Linked DNA regions of Homo sapiens: all the other regions are linked to region 3. The links are contacts of gene promoters, found by promoter capture Hi-C in blood cells and fetal thymus (Javierre and others, 2016). All regions are on one chromosome and are shown on one strand. Each heading gives the region's core, a stretch centred on a gene start or on the middle of the fragment in contact. The rest is flanking DNA. Distances are from core to core; before and after follow the strand shown. Region 1 has its middle 20 kb from the start of LYPD3. Region 2 has its middle 2.9 kb from the start of TEX101. Region 3 holds the start of IRGC (immunity related GTPase cinema).

The links. Contacts are between HindIII fragments. The CHiCAGO score rates a contact against its expected background, and 5 or more counts as called.
Region 1: a contact is called between a fragment that was not itself captured here and the fragment with the promoter of IRGC in region 3, in 5 of 17 cell types (monocytes, total B cells, activated CD4 T cells and 2 more). The highest score is 6.5, in monocytes.
Region 2: a contact is called between a fragment that was not itself captured here and the fragment with the promoter of IRGC in region 3, in 8 of 17 cell types (total CD8 T cells, naive CD4 T cells, naive CD8 T cells and 5 more). The highest score is 8.2, in total CD8 T cells.

The regions. Positions count from the first base shown.
Region 1 is chr19:43,443,660-43,447,497 of GRCh38, reverse strand. No RefSeq gene overlaps it. Among named protein-coding and RNA genes, the nearest start is that of LYPD3, 20 kb to the left of the region's middle. The HindIII fragment of the contact is 1,160 bases long and covers 774-1,933 here.
Region 2 is chr19:43,409,943-43,414,094 of GRCh38, reverse strand. It overlaps a transcript of TEX101 not described here. Among named protein-coding and RNA genes, the nearest start is that of TEX101, 2.9 kb to the left of the region's middle. RefSeq lists a silencer at 818-1,004. The HindIII fragment of the contact is 751 bases long and covers 1,356-2,106 here.
Region 3 is chr19:43,714,507-43,718,635 of GRCh38, reverse strand. IRGC (immunity related GTPase cinema) reads right to left here and starts at 2,560. Exons shown (of 2, transcript NM_019612.4): 1 at 2,494-2,560; 2 at 1-143. The coding sequence starts at 77. RefSeq lists an enhancer at 2,087-2,587. The HindIII fragment of the contact is 15,065 bases long and covers 1-4,129 here.

The sequences.
Region 1 (3,838 bases), core at 104-2,603, 270 kb after region 3:
AATTAGCACATCACAAGAAACTCATGAACATGGGTTAACAAAATGAACCACTGATAAGCCAACTTTTCTGTGTCAAAAGGTGGGAGGTTCACTTGAGCCCAGGATGACGAGGCTGCAGAGAGCCGAGATTGCGCCACCGCACTCCAGCCTGGGTGACAGAGCAAGACCCTGCCTCAAAACAAACAAACAAAACAAGAACAGTGGCACCTTAACTGTTAATTATACGAGAAACTGGGAGCTCCTGTAGGGTTTTCACCCTGCAAGTCAGATTGGTGTTTTCCATGCGCCCTCTGGCGGCTTGGAGCAGCAATGTCAGCTAAGCATCAGCATCCAGCCCCTGGCTGGACTCTCGGAAAGTACTACTGCTATTTGGCGAATGCACTTGCACCAACATTCACCTAAATCTGCAGCAGACACAGGGACAAAGCTCTGTCTGGGTTTCCAGGACATCTTCTCAGAGGTCGTGATGGATAAGACCAGGAGCGGGATCTTAAATAACAAGGAGCACGTGCAGAGGCCTGAGCGAACATGCCTTGTGTCCGGAACTGGGTGCAGCAACCTGGGAGAGAGCAGGGAGATGAGGCTGGGGAATTAGGTCAGGCCCATTTGGGAAAGAACCTTGGCATTGGGACTTTGTGCTGTAAACCAGTTTGGAGATTGTGAACCATCAAGCTTCAAAGACAAAATTGGAGGGTCAAGCATTAAGGATGTCAACTTTTTATTTTGTTAGTAGGGTCTTAAAAAAACAACTATTCTTATTCATTCTAAAAGCTTTTAATGAACACCTACTGTGTGTTAGGGAATGTTCTGGGCAGGATCTGAGTCTGCATTGCTCACTATTGTATACCCTCAGAGTCTAGAGTCATGGAAAGGCCCCAAAAGAAGGGATGAATGAAATGAAAGATCATTGCTAAAGCAAGGTCAGGGTGGAGATGAACTGCCAGGGGTGAGTCCAAGCTGGGTGAGATTGTGGATGAGTTTGGAGACAGAAAAGAATAAAGGTGAAAGTGCTTAGTCCGGCCAGGCGTGTTGGCTCATGACTGTAATCCCAGCACTTTGGGAGGCTGAGGCAGGCAGATCATGAGGTCAGGATTTCGAGACCAGCATGGCCAACATGGTGAAACCCCACCTCTAATAAAAATACAAAAATTAGCCAGGCGTGGTGGCAGGTGCCTGTAATCCCAGCCCCTCGGGAGGCTGAGGCAAGATAATTGCTTGAACCCGGGAGGTGGAGGTTGCAGTAAGCCAAGATTGCCCCACTGCACTCCAGCCTGGTGACAGAGCAAGACTCTGTCTCAAAAAAAAAAAAAAGAGAAAGTGTTCAGTCCTTGAACTGTCAAAAGACAAAATCACAACAAATTTGCTTATAGATTCCCTCCCACCTCAGCCTCCCAAATAGCTGGGATTACAAGTATGCACCATCATGCCTGGCTAATTTTTATGTCTTTACAAAAGATACATGTTGGCCAGGCTGGTCTCGAACTACTGACCTCAAGTGATCCACCTGCCTTGGCCTCCCAAAGTGCTGGGATTACAGGCATGAGCCACTGTGCCCAGCCTGCTTAAAGATCTTAACTGGTTATTATTTGTGATTTTAGAATTGGGCAACATCGAATTATAAGAGACAGAATGAGTATTCTGATGAGTCGAGCAAAAGAGGTTGGTTTTATAGACAGAAAGGGCAGAGACTGCAGAAACAGAGAAGAAAAAGTGTATTGGCCATTTCAAAATTACTTTCCTTGTAAAGGTTAAAGGACAGGGGTTTCCTTATCATGCAGGCTAAAACTGGCCTGCTTGGGGACTTGGCTGTTATCTTTCACTCTCCTGATTTTTTGGAAGGTCAGGTAAAACAATTGAGTTTTGGCTTGGTGATGTGGAAGTTAGCACGAGTGACTCCATTTTGGTTTGGTCTGTTGGGCTTTGCACAGAAGCTTGGTCCAAACTAGTGGCCTCTGGTAAATTTCATTGAACAATATTATTATTAGTTTTTTTCTTTCTTGAAAGAGGGCCTCACTCTGTCACCCAGGTTGGAGTGCAGTGGCGTGATCATAGCTCACTGCAGTCTTGACCTCCCAGGCTCAAGCCATCTTCCCAGTTCAGCCTGGAGAGTAGCTGGGATTACAGGTGTGTGCCACCACACCTGTCTAATTTCTTGTAGAGATGGGGTCTCACTTTGTTGCCCAGGTTGGTCTTGAACTCCTGGGCTCAAGCAATTCTCCCACCTTGGCCTTCCAAAGCATTGGGATTACAGGCATGAGTCACCATGCCTGGCCAATAATGGTTAACTTTTGAAACACTCCAGTGGCTTCTCTTCTCATTTAGCGGAAGCACTGTGCCCTTGGCATGCCCACAGGGTCTGGCCCTGACCGCTGTGCTGGCCGCAACTTCTTGCACTAACCACTGCCTGCTCCGCTGCAGCCACGCAGGTCTCCTGGATGAGCCTTAGCCACAGAGACCCATTCCCTTCTCAGAACCTTTGCACTTCCTGTTCCTTCTGCCTGCAATGCCCATCCTGCATTTACCAACAGCTATGCGACAAACACTCATGGCACCAAGCACAGTTCTGAGCTGTGAGAGGAAAATAAATATTGGGGCCCCAAAATCACCAAAGCTAAAGGGAAAAGTCAAGCTGGGAACAGCTTAGGGTGAACCTGCCTCCCATTCTATTCAAAGTCACCGCTCTGCTCACTGAGATAAATGCATATCTCATTGCCCCATTTGGAGAGGCTAATCAGAAACTGAAAAGAATGCAACTACCAGCATGGTGGCTTATGCTTGTCATCCTAGCACTTTGGGAGTTCGAGGCGGATGGTTCACCTGAGGTCAGGGGTTCGAGACCAGCCTGGTCAACATAGCGACACCCCCGTCTCTACTAAAAATGCAAAAATTAGCCAGGCGTGGTGGTGGGTGCCTGTAATCCCAGTTACTCGGGAGGCTGAGACATGAGAATAGCTTGAACCCGGGAGGCGGAGGTTGCAGTGAGCCAAGATCTCACGATTGCACTCCAGCCTGGATGACAGAGTGAGACTCCGTCTCAACAACAACAACAGCAGCAGCAACAGCAACAACAACAACAAATTAGCCGGGCATGGTGGCACATGCCTGTAATCCCAGTTACTCTGGAGGCTGAGGCAGAAGAATCACTTGAACCCAGCAGGCAGAGGCTGCAGTGAGACAAGGTTGCGCCACTACGCTCCAGCCTAGGGCAACAGAGCAAGACTCTGTCTCAAAAAAAAAAAAAACAAAAAACAAAAAACAAAAAGAATGCAACTGGCTGGGCGCAGTGGCTCATGCCTGTTATCCCAGCACTTTGGGAGGCCGAGACTGGCGGATCACCTGAGGTCAGGAGTTCAAGACCAGCCTGGCCGACATGGCGAAACCCTTGCTCTACTAAAACATACAAAAATTAGCTGGGTGTGGTCGTGGGCACCTGGAATCCCAGCTACTTGGGAGACTGAGGCAGGAGAATCACTTGAACCCAGGAGGTGGAGGTTGCAGTGAGCCGAGATAGCACCACTGTACTCCAGCCTGGGTTACAGAGTGAGACTCCATTTCAAAAAAATGAATGCAACCACTTCTCTCTTATCTACCTATGATCTGGAAGCCCCCTCCTTTCTTCCAGTTTCCTGCCTTCACCTTGAGTTGTCCCACCTTTCTGGACTGAACCAATGTACATCTTACACCTACTGATTGATGTCTCATGTCTTCCTAAAAGGTATAAAACCAAGCTGTGCCCCTACCACCTTGGGCACGTGTCATCAGGACCTCCTGAGGCTGTGTCATGTGCGTGCATTCTCAACCTTGGTCTCCTAATTAACTTTCTGAATTAACTGAGACC
Region 2 (4,152 bases), core at 482-2,981, 300 kb after region 3:
TGGAGTGCAATGGCACAATCTTGGCTCCCTGCAACCTCCTCCTCCTGGGTTCAAGTGATTCTCCTACCACAGCCTCCCAGGTAGCTGGGATTACAGGCATAAGCTACCATGCCTGGCTAATTTTTTGTATTTTTTTTTTGGAGACAGAGCCTCTCTCTATCCCCCAGGCTGGAGTGCAGTGACGTGATCTCAGCTCACTGCAACCTCCCTCTCCCAGGTTCAAGCGATTCTCATGCCTCAGTCTCCCCTGAGCAGCTAGGATTACAGGCACCTGCCACCACACCTGGCTAATTTTTGTATTTTTAGTAGAGACGGGGTTTCGCCGTGTTGACCAGGCTGGTCTTGAACTCCTAACCTCAGGTGATCTGCCCACCTCGGCCTCCCAGAGTACTGGGATTACAGACGTGAGCCACCACCCCTGGCCTATGTAAGCTTTCCAGGTGTGACATGAAGTTGTAGCAGGATGAGCTGCAGACAAAACTCCTCAGATACTGGATTAAAGAAGGAAGAGGTTTATTTGGCCGGGAGCCTCAGCAGACTTGCGTCTTAAGAGCCGAGCTCCCTGAAAAATAAATTCTTGGCCTTTTTTTTTTTTTTTGGAGTCTCCCTCTGTTGCCCAGGCTGGAGTGCAGTGGTGCAATCTCGGCTCACTGCAAGCTCTGCCTCCCGACTTCATGCCATTCTCCTGCCTCCGCCTCCCGAGTAGCTGGGACTACAGTCACCCACCACCACACCCGGCTAATTTTTTTGTATTTTTAGTAGAGATGGGGTTTCACTGTGTTAGCCAGGATGGTCTCGATCTCCTGACCTCGTGATCCGCCCGCCCCCCAAAGTGCTGGGATTACAGGCATGAGCCACCACGCCTGGCCAATTCTTGGCCTTTTTAAAGGCTTACAACTTCGAGGGGTCCACATGAAAGGGTCGTGATAAATCGAGCAAGCGTGGGAAACGTGACTGGGGGCTACATGCATCAGGTAACAGAACAGAAAGTTTTGCAATGCTTTTTCATATAATGTCTGGAACTTACAGATAACACAAGTAGTTTAGGTCAGGGGTTGCTGTTATTATTATTACTTTTTTTAACTCCTAGGGCTGGGTGGTGGTGCCAAGGTTGACTGGCTATTTATCTTACTTCTGTTTCTTTCCAACTTTTTGCTTTCTCTCTTTCCTCCTGTCTTGTGAACTAGGCAAGGTCGGGGGAGGAGGGCAGCAGGAGTAGTAGTGGTCTCCTTCCTTAAAGTAAGGCAACGCTTTGTATACTTTCAGAATTGGTACTGATTCTGTAAGTTATAGTATAAATGAGTATTTATTTTTAATAGAGAAAATGCCACAATAAGAAAGGGATTGGTAAAGCTTCAATCCCTTTGTTATCTTTGAACTGTTATCTTTGAATGATCACATGTCAAAGGATCCAGGAAGAATGTGTGCCAGTTTTCAGCCCCCGTCTGTCCCCCGAGGGCTCGTGCTTGGGAAAGCAGTCACCTTGTTGAGTCACTCTCCAGGTGACTTGGTCGCAGAATCCCTCCATCTCACACCTAGAAGAGACCTTGGAAGCCTAAGCACCCTCCACCTCTATTCTTCACCCCATTTCTGCTTCAACAGCTCCAGGGACCTCCTCTTGCTCCGTGACATAGTTTGGATATTTGTCCCCCGCCCAAATCTCATGTTGAAATGTAATTCCCAGTGTTGGAGATGCGACCTGGTGGAAGGTGTTTGGGTTATGGGGGCAGATCCTTCATGACTTGGTGCTGTCCTTGCAATGATGAGTGAGTCCTTGCCAGATCTGGTTGTTTAAGTGTGTGGCACCTCCCCTTCTTACTCTCTCTCGCTCCCCTTCTCTGGCCTGCATCCTTTTGCCATAAGTAAAAGCTCTCTGAGGCCTCCCCAGAAGGAGATGCTGGCACCACGCTTCCTGTACAGCTGCAGAACCTTGAGCCAATCAAACCTCTTTTCTTATAAATTACTTCTAGTCTCAGGTATTTCTTTATAGCAGTGCAAGAACACCCCAATACACAGCCCCTTGAGAAAGGTGGCTTTGCCTTTTTGGTGCAAGAGAGATTGACAGATCTTCCTTAGCCTGAGCCAATTTCTGTTCCTCTCCAAGCTTCAGTGTCCTCATCTAGAAAATGAAGAGGTTAGGCTGGGTGCAGTGGCTCAAGCCCATAATCCCAGCACTTTGGGAGGCCAAGGTGGGTGGTTCACCTGAGGTCAGGAGTTTGAGACCAGCCTGACCTTCACCAACACGGTGAAACCCTGTCTCTGCTAAAAATACAAAAATTAGCCAGGCCTGGTGGCACGCGCCTGTAATCCCAGCTACTTGGGAGGCTGAGGCAGGAGAATCACTTGAACCTGGGAGGCGGAGGTTGCAGTGAGCTGAGACTGCACCATTGCACTCCAGCCTGGGCAACAAGAGCAAAACTTGGTCTTGGTCTCAAAAAAAAAGAAAAAAAAGAAAAAAAAGAAAATGAGGAGGTTAGTCTAGAGCAATGGTTGGCAAATAGTTTATGAATCCATGGAACGTTTGTAAAAAAGAAAAAAGCTCAATGGCTAATATACAGTGAAGGCATCTTTTTATATAAGCACTTGTGACACCACCATTGGTCACTGGATTATTGCAGTACGCCCTGCCCTTGCCCATGTGGCTATTTCCCACCTGGCACCAGAGCGATCTCTTAATTGCAAGCCACACCACATTACTCCTGTTTAAAACTTTCTAATGGGCCAGGCACGGTGGCTCAGGCCTGTAATCCCAGCACTTTGGGAGGCCGAGGTGGTGGATCACCTGAGATCAGGAGTTCGAGACCAGCCTGGCCAACATGGTGAAACCCTGTCTCCACTAAAAATGAAAAAATTAGCTGGGCGTGGTGGTGCGCCCCTGTAATCCCAGCTACTCTGGATGCTGCAGCGAGAGAATCATTTGAACCTGGGAGGTGGAGGCTGCAGTGAGTCAAGATTGTGCTACTGCACTGCAGCCTGGGTGACAGAGCAAGACTCTGTTTCAAAAAAACCAAAACCTTCCAGTGGATTCTCATTTTACCTCAAGTAAGATTCTAGGCTGGGTGCCATGGCTCATGCCTGTAATCCCAACACTTTGGGAGGCTGAGGTGGGAGGATCGCTGGAGCCCAGGAGGTGGAGGTTGCAGTTGCAGTGAGCCGAGATAACGCCACTGTACTCCAGCTTTTGCTCTGGTGACAGAGCAAGACCCTGTCTCAAAAAAAAATTTTTTTTTTGTACTTTATAGTATAATTGGCTATGTGTGTTCATGTGTGACTGTGAGTGCATGCATGTTTGTGTGTGCACATGTCTGTATATATGTATGTCTGTGTGTATCTGTGTGCTGTGTGTGAATGTGTGTCTGATGTGTGTGTCTCGGTGTACATGTCAGTGTGCATGTGTGCATGGGCATGTGTGTATCTGGTTCCTTCCAGCTGTGTCTGATCCATCTCTGTGTACTCAGCATATGATTACAGTGTAGGTAAGTAAACATTTGCTGGATTAAAGAATGTCTCTTAGATCCAGAAATGAGAAACACACAACAGTGAGCCACCACATACCTCAGGCCCTCCGTATTCCATCCTCAGAATTTTTTCCATGCTTCCTGTATTCCTGGGGGAAAATTCCAACCTCCCACACTGGTCTTGGAGACCAGCCCCCATGCCTCACCCTTATCATTCCCTGTCTAATATCTATTCCCAGGACATCCCTAGTCTCTTCCAGCCTCTTTGGCTTTGCTCACACTGGTCCCTCTGCATGGGAGACCTCTCCCTAATCCGCTTCCCCCATGCATTTGTTTACCCCACAAACTCCTAATTGTCCTTCAAAGCCCATTCCTCCAATGCCCACAGCCCTCAGTGAAGCCGGCATAAGCATCGTGCAGCTCCCTTTTTGAGTGCTCCAGTTCTCCTACCAACAGGCCTATGCACACACCCAGTTCCCTCTCAAACCAACAGGCTTTTCCTTCCTACTTGTAAAGGATTGAGATCTTCTGCAAACCTTACAAAACAATGAGTTGTAAGCCTTGAGGTTAAACCACCAGTTTTACTTATTTTTTTTTTGAGACAGGATCTCTCTCAATCTTGTCCAGGCTGGAGTACAGTGGTGCAATCACAGCTCACTGCAGCCTCAAACTCCTGGGCTCAAACAATCCTCCC
Region 3 (4,129 bases), core at 1,311-3,810:
GCCTCCAGCCTTTCCTTGGCCATAAGGATGGTGTTTTCCTCCTCCCCAGGCACCACGGGCAACTTTGAAGTAGCCATGGTGGCCAGTGGTTCAGAGGGTGGCGGGGGACAGGGGAGAGTCACAGGATGCGTGATCCTCAGCGCCTGCAGAGGAGAAGGGAGCCATTCACACCTCCTGGGCCTTGGCATGGGGCAGGGAGAGACAGATACCACGGATGTGAAGGGAGTCGCCCTGGAAGCCCACAGCTCTCTTTTTCCTTCAAGAATTGGGGACACATTTTTGGCACAAGTTAGAGGGCTTTGGGGTCTGGCAGGCCCAGGTTCACATCCCTTTTCTGCCACTAACTTGCTGTGTGACCAGGGGCAAAATGAAGCACCTCTCTGGGTAATGGGCATGACCACCAAGCAGCCTCTTGGAGCACTATTGGAGTCTCCAGGGTAACCTAGGCACAGGTCAGTTTTCTGGGTGTATGTGTGCCCTGGAGGGTTCTGTGCTTAGAATGGCCCAGTGCTTGGTTTAATGCTCTGCTGACACTAGCTGAAATTGTTTGTTTGTTTGTTTGTTTGTTTGAGACAGGGTCTCTCTGTCATCGAGGCTGGAGCACAGTGCTACGATCATGGCTCATTGCAGCCTTGATCTCCTTGGCTCTAGCAATCCTCCCACCTCAGCCTCCTGAACAGCTGGGACCACAGGCGCATGCCACCATGCCCAGCTACTTTTTAAATTTTTTGTAGAGATGGGAGTCTCACTATGTTGTCCCAGCTGGTCTTGAACTTCCGAGATCAAGGTCCTCCTGCCTCAGCTTCCCAGAGCGCTGGGATTAAGGGCATGAGCCACTATGCCTGGCCTGAAATTCTTTATAATATTTGAACCAGGGGCCCCATATTTTCATTTCGTACTGGGCCTTGCAAATTATATAGCCAGGGCAAATTACATAGCCAGGGCTGCATAGGAAAGGGTGGTACAGGCCCATTCAGAGGAAACAGCTGCACTCCTGCGGTGGCTGGGATTGGAGGGTAGGGTGGAGGGGACCCAGACCCGGAGCCAGACTGCCTGGGATCAAATCCTGGCTCCACCACATACTTACTGAGTGATGTGAGGCAAGTTACTTAACTCTCTCCTCACTCTCCTCATCTGAACACTGAGAATGATACCTACAATCCTGGCAAACCACCTCCTAGGATCTCTGTGACTTGAATGAGTTATGACATAAAGCAGCCCATAAAACGGCGCCTGGCTCAGGGCAGGTGCCTCGTGTCATTGGCATCACCATCATCGTCATTATTCTTATCATTAGTAATATTCTTAGCTGTGTGACTTTGAGCAAGTCCTCGCCCTGTCTGAGCCTCAGCTGCCCCGTGGGGGATACTCCTCCCCACCTCGCAGGGCTGCTGTGATGCCCACAAACCCCGTTCAGCTAGCCCTAGGCTGACTTTGGGTTCAGACGCCCTTGGGTTCGGGAAGCCAGACATGGGGACCACCTGGACACCAGGAGTCATTTCCATGAAACCCCACCCCTGCCATGGCAGCCCTTGCCTCCCGGGGTTCAGTTCCCCTCCCACCGCCCAGAGCTCCTGTCGTGATGGTCCCCCCTCAGATCCCTCCTCCTCACCAGGAGCTTCCCTGGTCCTCCCTCTTCCCACTCACCCTCCTCTGGCCCATCATCTCTAAAATACATTTACTCACTAAGGGTCTTCAGGGTGCCCTGGGAGAGCTGCTCATGTCTGGGATCACTGTCCCCATTTGACAGGGAGAAGGACTGAGGCTCAGACAAGACAAATGAGGTCTCCTCATCCAGAGGCATAGCCAGGACCCCAACCCAGGTCCCCAGGCTCCTTCACCCACCTAGAGAGCTACTCTCCCTTCAGCTGCATGTCCCTGCCTCCTGCATTGTCTCCTTGCCCCCTGCACCCCGTCTCTTCACCTCCTACCACTCACCCCATCCTCTGCTACCCCACTCCACCCCCCACAGAAATATGTCCTTAAGACATTGTTCCCGGCTGGGCATGGTGGCTCACGCCTGTAATCCTAGCACTTTGGGAGGCCGAGGTGGGTGGATCACTTGAGGTCAGGAGTTCGAGACCAGCCTGGCCAACATGGTGAAACTCCATCTCCACTAAAAATACAAAAATTAGCCAGGTGTTGTGGCGCATGCCTGTAGTCCCAGCTCTTGAACCCAGGAGGCGGAGGTTGCAGTGAGCCAAGATTGCACCACTGCACTCCAGCCTGGGCGACAGAGCGAGACTCCGTCTCAGAAAAAAAAAAAGGAAAAAAAAAAGACATTGTTGCCTCCAGATCTGAGCCTCCTATCCTGGGTGTGCCCTCTCCCTAGTATGGTCTGCGGTGGGAAGAGTAGGAACCTGGAACAGGTCCTGGCAGCAAGGGGCAGACAAGTCAGTGGTTGGAATTTGGGCTGAGGGGGTCCGGATTAGACCATAAGCTCCTGCTCCGCCCACGCACAGGGGCCCAGCGAGAGAGCCCTGGGGGACTCACCTGCCCTGCAGGCTCTCCCTCTCCCCTCACACTCTCCCCACTGATAGGATCTCCTTCCCTCTTAGCCAAGGTCAGACACCGTTGCTAGGACCCATTATCATAGCAAGCAGCAGCTTATTGGTCAGCCAGACCTGGTGCAATAATGCGACAGTGATGTCAGGGGGTGGGGCCCGGAGGTGGAGCAGGGACCCCAAGCCCCAGCTGCTCATGGGGTCACCACCCACTCACACTGGGCCCTCCAGTTCCCCTGAAGACTCCAGAGAGATCTTTCTAACACCAAGACCTGTTCAAAATCCTCCATGGTCTCCATCACCCCCCAAGGACAAAGTCTCAGATTCACAGATTGGTTTCCAAGGGCTTGGCCCTGCTACCACTCCACCCTCCACCCAGGGGACTGTCAGTTCCCCAGAGAAGTGTGAAAGTTGATGATACAAATTCGGTCATTGCTGGTGGGCACAGTGGCTCACGCCTGTAATGCCAGCACTTTGGGAGGCCGAGGCGAGTGCATCACTTGAGGCCAGGAGTTTGAGATCAGCCTGGGCAATGTGGTGAAACTCCATCTCTACTAAAAATACAAAAATTAGCCAGATGTGGTGCATGCATGTAGTCCCAGCTACTCGGGAGGCTGATCTGCTATCTTGTAAGCCCAATAATTTAGTCATTGATTTCTTTTTTTTCTTTTTTTGAAACAGTGTCTTGCTCTGTCACCCAGGCTGGAGTGCAGTGACACAATCTTGGCTCACTGCAACCTCCGCCTCCTGGGTTCAAGTGATTCTCCTGCTTCAGCCTCCTGAGTAGCTGGGACTACTAGCATGCACCACCAGGCTTGGCTAATTTTTTTTTTTTTTTTTTTTTTTTAGTAGAGGTGGGGTTTCACCATGTTGCCTAGGCTGGTCTTGAACTCCTGACCTCAGGTTATCCGCCTGCCTCGCCTCCCAAACCTCCTGACCTCAGGTTATGCCGCCTCCCAAAGCGCTAAGATTACAGGTGTAGCCACTACACCCGGCCCCTTCTTGTCCTTTATAAGTGTCTCTGTCCTGTCTCCCCTCCGGGCTTCCTCTCTGCCCAGGCCAGGCTCCACAGGGCCTTCTCCATTCTCCTCTTGTAGGGAATTTACAATAACGCTACTCAGAGGATTTTCCTGACCATCTGCAGGCCAGTTCTGGAAAGGAGCCTCTGAGAACAACTAAGGAGAGAGAGGCCCAGAAGGGGAATAGACTAGCTCAGAGCCACCCTGAGAGCTGGGGAAGAGTGGGCTGTTGGCCGCATAGTACAGAGTTCTTAAGCCACAGGTGAAAGGGAGGTGCAGGGCAAAAGACACACGACTCACTCATGCTCTCACTGACTGACACAAACACACAGAGCTGAAGAGAGTGAACAACATGGTTCTCAGACTTCCCCGGACACCGAGCACACAGACCAGCAGACAGCAAGGACTCCTTCCCAAAATGCATGGACACGCACCCCTGGCCCAAGAGAGAAGGGAAAGACACAGAAAGAGCCTCAAATACAGAGTTACTTCGTGGCTGGGCATGGCGGCTCACTCACGCCTGTAATCTCAGCAATTTGGGAGGCCGAGGTAGGAGGTTTGCTTGAGCCCAGGAGGTTGAGACCAGCCTGGGCAACATAGCAAGAC